Regions from separate parts of the Homo sapiens genome. Here regions 1 and 2 are each linked to region 3. The links are contacts of gene promoters, found by promoter capture Hi-C in blood cells and fetal thymus (Javierre and others, 2016). All regions are on one chromosome and are shown on one strand. The core of a region is centred on a gene start or on the middle of the fragment in contact, and the rest is flanking DNA. Distances in the headings are between cores, read along the strand shown. Region 1 overlaps LOC124904781 (a long non-coding RNA gene). Region 2 holds the start of ZIK1 (zinc finger protein interacting with K protein 1). Region 3 holds the start of ZNF527 (zinc finger protein 527).

Evidence for each region. The method cuts DNA at HindIII sites, captures the fragments that hold promoters and counts their contacts. A CHiCAGO score of 5 or more calls a contact.
Region 1: a fragment that was not itself captured here is called in contact with the fragment with the promoter of ZNF527 in region 3 in 1 of 17 cell types (monocytes); the score reaches 6.8 in monocytes.
Region 2: the fragment with the promoter of ZIK1 here is called in contact with the fragment with the promoter of ZNF527 in region 3 in 6 of 17 cell types (monocytes, non-activated CD4 T cells, naive CD4 T cells and 3 more); the score reaches 22.9 in monocytes.

The regions. Positions count from the first base shown.
Region 1 is chr19:57,561,816-57,565,048 of GRCh38, reverse strand. It overlaps LOC124904781 (a long non-coding RNA gene), which reads right to left. Exons shown (of 2, transcript XR_007067357.1): 2 at 940-1,185. Among named protein-coding and RNA genes, the nearest start is that of ZNF550, 3.6 kb to the right of the region's middle. The HindIII fragment of the contact is 5,328 bases long and covers 1-3,233 here.
Region 2 is chr19:57,582,137-57,585,564 of GRCh38, reverse strand. It overlaps ZIK1 (zinc finger protein interacting with K protein 1), which reads right to left and starts at 1,420. Exons shown (of 4, transcript NM_001010879.4): 1 at 1,176-1,420; 2 at 575-613. The coding sequence starts at 1,208. RefSeq lists enhancers at 1,584-1,683, 1,380-1,911. The HindIII fragment of the contact is 4,281 bases long and covers 462-3,428 here.
Region 3 is chr19:37,369,328-37,372,466 of GRCh38, reverse strand. ZNF527 (zinc finger protein 527) reads right to left here and starts at 1,368. Exons shown (of 5, transcript NM_032453.2): 1 at 1,241-1,368. RefSeq lists a silencer at 969-1,278 and enhancers at 1,309-1,618, 1,789-1,838, 1,859-1,998. The HindIII fragment of the contact is 7,295 bases long and covers 1-3,139 here.

The sequences.
Region 1 (3,233 bases), core at 646-3,145, about 20 Mb before region 3:
GGATTCTTAGGAATTACTGAATTTTGCAGACTGTGGGTACCTGGATATGGTGAAATACCTCACCCTTTATACCACCTCATAAAAGAAACTCAAGCAACTAATACTTGGAATCTTAAAACTCAAAAGCCTTAACCAGTTAAAACAAGCATTACTTAAAACACCAGCCCTCAGTCTTCTCATAGGGAACACATTTAATCTCTATGTATCAGAAAGAAAGGAAACGGCCCAGGGAATTTTAACAAAGGCTCGAGGTCCAGCTCAACAGCCAGTGGGTTACCTAAGCAAGGAACTTGACTTGGTGGTTAAAGGATGGCCAGCCTTCCTCCAAGAAGTTGCATTGGTGGCTTTGCTCGTGCCAGAGGCCACCAAGTTAATAATGGGAAATAACTGTTTGTTTGTTTTTTGTTTGTTTGAGACAGAGTCTCGTTCTGTCACCAGGCTGGAGTGCAATGGCGTGATCTCGGCTCATTGCAACCTCTGCCTCCTGGGTTCAAGCAATTCTTCTGCCTCAGCCTCCTGAGTAGCCGGCACTACAGGTGTGCACCACCATGCCCTGCTAACTTTTGTATTTTTAGTAGAGATGGGGTTTCACTATGTTGACCAGGATAGTCTTGATCTCTTGACCTTTTGATCCACCCACCTCAGCCTCCCAAAGTGCTGGGATTACAGGCATGAGCCACCGCACCCAGCCGGAAAATAACTGTTTAGACCCCACATAATATAGCAGGACTGCTATCCTCTAAGGGAAGTCTCTGGCTAACAGACAATTGCCTCTTCAAATATCAGGGCTTGCTGTTAGAGGGATCTACAGTCCAGTTAAAAACCTGTCCTTGCCTGAATCCAGCCACTTTCCCCAAAAGTAAACTGGAGAACCTGAACATGATTGTGAACAAAGAGTGATGCAAACCAGTAAAAAAAAAAAAAAGATAAGGATCATTGTTTATATTATCTGTAAAGTTTTAATTAGTAAAGAAGAATTTTATGAAAGAGCACTCAGCTTAATTAAAAGTGGATACCCAAGTTATAGGTGTCCTTGAAACGCCTTTATGTTTTTCTCTTCTTAGATCTTGTTTTTCTGGAAAAGGTTTGTATCTCAGTCAACTGAATTACTTTTCTCCACTCTGTCTTGCCAATCTTGGTGCATGCATGAAAGGCTCAAGGATGACTTCTGGTGGCCTTGGACTCCTTGAGAAAACAGACAAGGTGCCACAGATTCAATTTGGGGGAAATCTGTTTTCCTCATGGAACCCCAAGAATTAGAGATGGATAAATCCCTCTCAAAATCTGTTTTGGCCTTCGAGCTATGCCTGTTTATTAGGCCCCAGAAACTGCATGCTTTTGTAGCCTTATTCTTAAAGGGCTCCACCCTGAGCTGCTGGATCTTCTTCTGTCTGTGTAGTCATATATGTGTTGTGTGATGTCTATAAAAAAGAGCTGTAATTGATTGGCCTATAAGCACTTAGATCAAATAAAATTCTTTTTTTCCCAGACTGAGTCTTGCTCTGTCACCAGGCTGGAGTGCAGTAGTGCGATCTTGGCTCACTGCAACCTCCGCCTCCCAGGTTTAAGCAATTGCTCTGCCTCAGCCTCCCAAGTAGCTGGGATTACAGGCACGTGCCACCATGCCTGGCTAATTTTTTGTATTTTAGTAGAGATGGGGTTTCACCATGTTGGCCAAGATGGTCTCAATATCCTGACCTTATGATCCACCCACCTCAGCCTCCCAAAGTGTTGGGATTACAGGTGTGAGCCACTGCGCCTGGCCGATCAAATCTTTTTTGAAAGAATAGTAAAAACTGTAATTTCTCTTAGTTCATGTGACTTTAATCTTTAAAAATAAAACAGTCTTAGGGATTATTGGTAAAATACAAATGTACTCAAGATGTAAATATGTGGTCTAAATTATGCAGGTCAGATGGTAGGTTTGCTAAATGTTTTAAGGTTGTACTGCTCCTTTGGCCTTTAAGAACTGTTCAACTTGCCTGCTTCACAATGGGTAAAGTCTGGGAACATATGGAAGTAACCAAGCCCCTAACTTATTCTGGAAGGAGTTAAACTTTATCTGCACCCAGCAAATAATTAAAACAACTTACCAGGTTTTACACTAAAGTTAAAAATTGCTAAGAGGTAGGGCCAGGCGTGGTAGCTCACACATGTAATCCTAGCACTTTGGGAAGCTGAGGCGGACAGATCACGAGGTCAGGAGATTGAGACCATCCTGGCTAATGCGGTGAAACCCCATCTCTACTAAAAATACAAAAAATCAGCCTGGCATGGTGGCATGTGCCTGTAGTCCCAGCTACTTGGGAGGCTGAGGCAGGAGAATCGCTTGAACCTGGGAGGTGGTGGTTGCGGTGAACCAAGACTGTGCTACTGCACTCCAGCTTGGGTGACAGAGCAAGATTCCATCTTAAAAAAAAAATTGCTAAGAGTTACCATTATGACATGTAATTGAGACTACTGAATAGATTTACATGCAATGTGTGTAAAAACAGTAAAATGTGTTTTTTGTAAAAAATTATAAGAAGGCATGGCAATGTACGTTTTGCCTAGGGATAAAGAATTGTCTTAAAGTAGATAAAATACAACTGAAGGTTTAAGCAAACTGGGGAAAAAATTGTAAGAATTAATCTTGCAAAGGAAACTCTGTGTGAATATATTGACTACATTCAAAAGGGTATTATGTGGTTTTCTGTAAATTGAGCATTGAAATAAAAGCACAACAAAGAACTCTTAATGCATGAATCTACTCTTTAGCAAAATTTGTAAAGGGTTATAAAAGGTTTGTGAAAATCTCACCTCATTGTCAAACTGGTTAAGATTGGATAGAATTGCCTATAATTGTTTCATTAAAAATTGTGGTTGACATTAATAGTACACTAATGTAAGGGTGAAATTTGGCTTTCTCTCTCTTGAACACAATTTTCATGTAATAGTAAAGGCTAATGAAAGGTTTTTGCTTTTTCAAATTTTTGAGTCATCATTTTGGCAAAATAAATAACTTATAGTAATCTGGAATTCTAGTACATAACATCAAATATTTTAAGCCTGTTAACATATTTAACAGGCTTCCACAAATCAATTGTCTTTCTTGACACCTACGTTTTGGATGCTACAGAGGGTCCCTGGGGCATCCAGAAAAGAGGCAAGCAGGATTATTTGACATGTTTTGTTACATGGGATTGCCAAAATGATGTCTAATCTTCTTCAGGTTATATTTCAGCAAATACTAT
Region 2 (3,428 bases), core at 171-2,670, about 20 Mb before region 3:
ATTCTGACCCAGAATCCAGCCACTTCTTCTACCTTCACAGCCACCACACTGGTGAAGCCACTATCAAAACTCACCTTGGCCACTGCAGTAGCCTCCTCCCTGGTCTTTCTATCGCCTCCATCACACCCACAGAGTATTCTCTATGCTGCATTAACAGTGAACCTGATGAGACCAGTGTCAGATAACCTCCGTTCTCTTCTCTAAACCTCCCATTGTTCTCATCACCTCCAGAAAAAACACCCAATTTCTCAGAGCCATTCCAGGCCTGAGTCCTGCCCTGCTGCTCTGAGTTCCCATGAGAAAGAAAGGAGAGTTGTGTTTCCCTGAATCAGCTCAGCTTCACTGCCAACCTTACACATTATTGTACGTAGGCGGGGCAACCTTTCACACCTCATTCCATTGTCTGCCAGCAATAAGAACGTCTACAAATAACCACCAGTCTAGAATCAGGATGTCAAGCTTCCAGTTTGTGAAGAGTCCTTAGGTCAAAGAACTGGATGGTGGCAAAAAGATCCATGAAAAAACCCCAGGATGGGGCCAGGACCAGTGAGGGCCTGGGACACCCTCCACTCACCTTTGTGAGGTCCATATGTGTTTCTGGAGACACAGTAACCTGTGGAAAGCCAAAGATCATGAAAGGCAGGTGACCATACAGGGCTCTACGGATTCAGGCTTCCCTGGATTCCTGTCCAGGCCAGAGCCAGGTGGACTGAGGATGCCTGCATTATTTCTGAGCCTCAGCGTTCCAGTCCTCAGTGCCAACTCTTAGCAACTGTGGGACCTTGCACAAGAACTCAACCTCCCTGTGCCTCTGTGTTATTCCATTCTATTCTAGTCTAACTCCATGAGGTTTTTGGAAAACTTCGAAAGACCTAACTCAGACCATATGCCGCTTCTGTACACAACCCTCCACGGCTCCTAGCATCCTAAGAATTGAGGGAAAACTCCTCACCTTGGCACTCCAGGTATGAACCTTCTTCACTGTGTCTCCAAGAGTTTAGAAACGCTGGTCCCTTTGCCTGTAACCCTCTTCCGTGCCCCATCACCCAAGTTCTGGAAATAGGGACCCCACCCACGAGCCCCCACTGTACTGGACATGAGGATCTCGACCGTAGTGACCCAAGAAGGCACTAATTTGGGGATGGAGGGTGAGGCCCAGTAGAGGCAGCGCTCACCTGAGTCGGGGCCCTCAGCGCGGCCGCAGCCATCGGAGTCTGTGGGCAGAGCGGGGCCGGGACCCGACAGCTACGGGCGGAGGGACCTAGGCAAAGCCGTCAACCCCGCCGCCGCCGACCCTTAGAACCCCCACTGTTCAGCGGGAGGACCCCTCCCCTCGCGCCTTCCGACTGTCGCCAAACAAAGCGCTCCCAAAGCTCTGACGGTCTGGATGCACCCAAGCGCTGCAAAAATGACCGCCACTGAAGTGATACCGGAAGTCCCTCCCCGACCCATTGGTCCCAAAGCGGAAACGACCCTTTTCTCAGCGCGGATTGGCTCAGCATCCCTGCGGCTGGAGACAAAACCTTCTGGGTTCTGTAGTCCCCGCTGGTCCCCAGGGCTGAGGGAAGGATGCTGCCGCCCAGCGTCACCTCAAACAAAAGCCAAGCGGCCGCGCTGGGGGCGCAGGGAAATGGCGTCGCCACAATGCAGGAGAGGGCTGGGCCTTGTCGCTCCTTAAACAGGCCGCTGGTCGATTTCTGTGGTCCCGTCGCGGCTGAGCGCCCACGTGATTAGAAGCATTGATTCAGGCTCAGGAAGCTGAGGCCAGATCCACACCGACGCGTATTCCATACGTATTCGACGCTCCTGCGGGAGCAAAGGAGCCTCGTGCCCCTCCCTTGCGGGGTCAAGGCGTTCGAGGCCGTGCCGGGGCCAAGGCTATTCTGTGAAAGGAGCGACTTAGGTGTCGCGCTGTGGGCACGTGTCCCGGGAGGCCACGTGGGGGCCGCGCCCCCGGCTGCTCCTGCTCTGACCTGAGCCCTTTGACTGTACCCAGAGGCGGGAGGCGGGGCCGAGACGTCCCATGGGAAGGGGTTCTCCGTAGCTCCACCCCGGGGGACGTCTCCTCCAGGGGGGCCGGGCGAGCTGGGAAGGCCCCAGAGCCGCCGAGGAAAGCGCCTCTGCTTCCCTGAGTCCCCTCCTGGGTCTAGGAGCCGTTCCTGCGTTTTCTGACGCCCTCTCCACCGCCCCTCGGCTGAGAACTGGGTCCAGATGAGCCTTGGACCCCGTTGAAGACGTCTCCTACCTCATCTCCCACACCTGCTGGGACCATCTCCAACCGCCCTCAGGGCAGTAGGGAGGTAGGCGGGTTCCCAGGGCACCCCAAGCGGTGGCGTACAGTGGTAGGAACAAGGCCTCTGGAGCCCAAGAATGGGATTTAGTCCCCGAGGGGAAGTCCATGCTCTGCCTTACAGCGGCTGGTATGGGCTTCTGGGGGCACCCTGAGACTCGGCCTGTAGGGATACTCATAATGGCCTCCATGAAGGTGCAGGTTTAACCACTGGACCAGTCTCATCTGGCCATCCTCTGTTGGTAACATAATGTCCAGTTATTTTGCAGGCACAGAGCTAAAGAGTTGCAAGTTACACAGCTAGAGAATGTGCAGAAAAGAAAATGTCAGGCCCAGCGCGGTGGCTCACACCTGTAATCCAAGCACATTGGGAGGCTGAGGTGGAAGGACCACTTGGGCAACATAGCCAGACCCCGTCTCTACAAAAACTAAAAAATTACCCGAGTATGGTGGTGCACCTGTAATCCTAGCTACTCAGGATGCTGAGGTGGGAGTATCGCTTGAGCCCAGGAGATCACGGTTACAGTGAGTTATGATTATGCCACTGCACTCCAGCCTGGGCAACGGAGCCAGACCCTGTCTCAATAAATAAATAAGTAAATAAATAAATAAATAAAAAGAAAAGAGAAAAGAAAACATTGACCCAACACTCGGAGCTGAAGTCTCACCTACCAGACTCCACCCTGTCACCACAGGAAACCAAAATATCAGGCTATGGCTGGAACCCAAGTGCTGAAACACTTCCGAAAGCAAGGGGTCTGTTGTCTCTGAATGTTGGGTGATAACAACCCCATCCCCGCCTTGCCATCAATAGATTTGTTTGAAGTCCTTCCAATCAAAATCCACCCTTCCAGTGCTTACCAACCTGTCCTTCCTAATCCTTAAAAGCTGCCCCAAACCCCATATTGGGGAGACAGATTTGAGCTGGACTCCTGTCTTCTTGTTTGTCGACTTGCAATAAAGGTTTGCTTTTCTCAAAAACCTGGTGCCATGGCATTGGCTTCTGTGTGCGTCGGACAGCAACCCTTTTCCTTATTAACACTGGCACCCTCTAGGTGACACGGTTGTGCACCTCATTACCCTCTGGTCCCAGAGGCCAGCAGCCCCCACAATGGCCACCTAACACCTGCCCTCACCC
Region 3 (3,139 bases), core at 119-2,618:
AAAAGAAAAGAAAAGAAAAGAAAGGGACAACTGTGGTTGACCTAGAATTCAGTATACATCACCCCCTAATTTCACCCCCTAATTCTGGACTACTTTGCACTAGGCAACTCAGTCCCTAGCAGTTATTTCCTTAGTGTAGTGCAGCTTGAAATTGTCCATAAAAACTGCAGCAGGGCGCAGCGCCTCACGCCTGTAATCCCAGCACTGTGGGAGGCTCTGGTGGGCGGATCATGAGGTCAGGAGTTGGAGACCAGCCTGGCCAAACATGGTGAAACCTCGTCTCTACTAAAAATACAAAAACTAGCTGGGCGTGGTGGTGCGCGCCTGTAATCCCAGCTACTTGGGAGGCTGAGGCAGGAGAATCACTTGAACCTGGGAGGCGGAGGTTGCAGTGAGCCGAGATCGCATCATTGCACTCCAGCCTGGGCAATAGAGTGAGACTCCATCTCAAGAGAAAAAAAAAAAAAAAAGCGAGACCTCTAGAGCTAAACTGCTTGGGTTTGAGTTCTGGTGCTGTCACTTGTTAACTGTGTGAACTTGGGTAATTCTAATATTTCTGTGCTTCATACATCAATCCCACAATCTCATATATACACACAAATTCTCACCCAATCACAAATGTATAGAGTCACACAAACACACCCATAATCTCACACAATACACAGCCACATAAGCACAAAGATAGATGGTAACATACAACTACACCAACAGAGATAAACAATCACACACAATCACACACAAAGTAGCATACCACAGAAGTCACACATCTTGTCACAATTACTGATACAAAACTATACCTGCGGAGACAGATGGTCATAGTCGCACAATCACACTTGCTGTCACACACATTCAAACGCAATTGTATCCGCAGAAACAGGTGGTCACATAACCACACACATGCATTTACACAAACACACAATGTCACACCCCAGTCTCTCATAAACACATACACAGCTACACCTGCAGAGACAGTCACACACAAACACACATATTCACAGTTTCACCCCCAGACACAGATGGTTACAGTCACACACAAGCGGGCGCACGCGCACAAACACACACACACAGTGACACAAGATCACATTCTGTCACACCCGCAGCCTGTCACATAGTTGGTAATACAGTGAAACACACACGGCCTCCCCAGCGACTCCTGCCGGGTTCCCATCCCTGGCGCGGCCGGGCCACCCGGAGCCCGCCCTTGACTTCCCGCTCCCGCCCGGGGCCCGGCCCCACTCACCTCCCGGCGCCGCGGGCTCTGCAAACGGGCCCCGCGACCGAGACCCGCGACGTCACCTCCCAGAATCCTCCGCGAGGAGGAGCGAGGCGAGGACTGAGGCATGCAGGACTCTGAGCTCTGCGAGATCTGAACCAGCGACACCGCGTTCCCCATGGACCCCGCGAACCACGAGCCCCAGAACGCTTTGCGCCACGGCCGTCATCGTTGAACTACATCTCCCAGAGAACCCCGCGGCCCCCTCCACTGCGCGCCTGCGCCACGGGGGCAGGTACCGGAGAGGGCTGTGTGCGGTCGTAGGCTCTCCAGTGACCTTGAGCTGCTGTGTTGGGGAAAGCGGCCAGGCTGCGCGCGGGGCTGACTGGTTGAATGCTTGGGTGTGGTGGTTCGTGTGTGACTGTTGCTGCACACCTTTATGCTTGCCGACGAAAGGAGCGGCGGATTTTGTCAGTGCAGGGAGCTTCTGTATTTTAAATCACGTCCCGTGATTGTGGGTAGCTGAATGTGAAAGTGATTGTGGATGAAAGAGACTGTGGCTGACATTGGGGGTGACCGTTTCTGTTACTGTGAGGATACCACTGATCCGATGTGTATCTGACTGTCTCCTGGTCTTACTGTTCCTTCACCCCCATCTCCTGCCATGGGCGGGGTCTGTGGTATCTTTTATTGAGGCAATCTCGGCGCTCACTGCAACCTCCGCCTCCCGGGTTCAAGCGATTCTCTTGCCTCAGCCTCCTGAGGAGCTGGGATTACAGGCACCTGCCACCACGCCCAGCTAATTTTTGTATTTTTAGTAGGGATGGGGTTTCACCATGTTGGCCAGGATGGTCTTCATCTCCTGAACTTGTGATCCACCTGCCTCGGCCTCCCCAAGTGCTGGGGTTACAGGCATGAGCCATCGCACCCGGCCTATTTTATTATTATTATTATTTCTCAATTGGTCAAAATAATATATTTAACATTTTAATATTATTAAACATACAAAAGGCCACACTTTGGCCCTCCTCTAGTCAAGCAGTTTCCTTCCTGGTGAAAGTCCATAGGCAGAAACATGCCTGCAAAGATCTCACAACCTTCTTTCAGACCATGCTCTGGGTATCCAAATCCCCAGGATTTCCTGTTCAAATGGACTCCAGCCTGCTTCCAGAGCCTGTATCTCCTCTGTGTCCAAAGACCCTTCCCTTGATCTGTCTTCCAAAGGTGGAATGTGCTGCCTATCCACAAAATGTGGCCAAATGAGAGCAATTTGGTAAGGCTAGACAGAGCTTAGATATGCAAGCTGGAGTGTCCACATGTGGGAATAGAAGACCTCTTACGATGTGGGACAAGGATGGCAGTGGGAACAGAAGGGGACTGGCTGGGGACCTCCATCTGTACTGTTGACCCAGGTCTCTACATGTCAATGACAGGCTCATTTATGTATAAACTATTTTGGAGACCAATGGTCTTATGATGATGGTGGTTTGAATTAGGGTCATCACTGGAAGAGGCAATGAGAAATTGTCAGATTGGGATACAGTTTGAGTGTAGAACTAACAGAAGTTGCTGATGCTTGGTTGTGAATATAGGGAAAGAGAGAAGTTCAATATAATGCCTAAATGTCTTGAGCCCCTGGAAAAATGGTAGTGTTATTTACTAAGATAGGGGAAAATGAGTATGTGGCAGTTATCTAGGATGGGGTGGGTGGTGAGGTATCATGTTAAGTCGCAGATGCTTGTTGGATTTCAAAAGAGTGATATCAAGTAGGCATTTAGATATATGTGTGTGGAGCTCAGTGAAATGTTGGTACTAGAGATACGAATTTGGGAATTTCAATTAAGATGCTTTTAATAGGAAGTTATACAGTTATATGCTCAACTGAAAGTAGCTTATACAGTAAAGATATTTATTTCCCCACTTAGC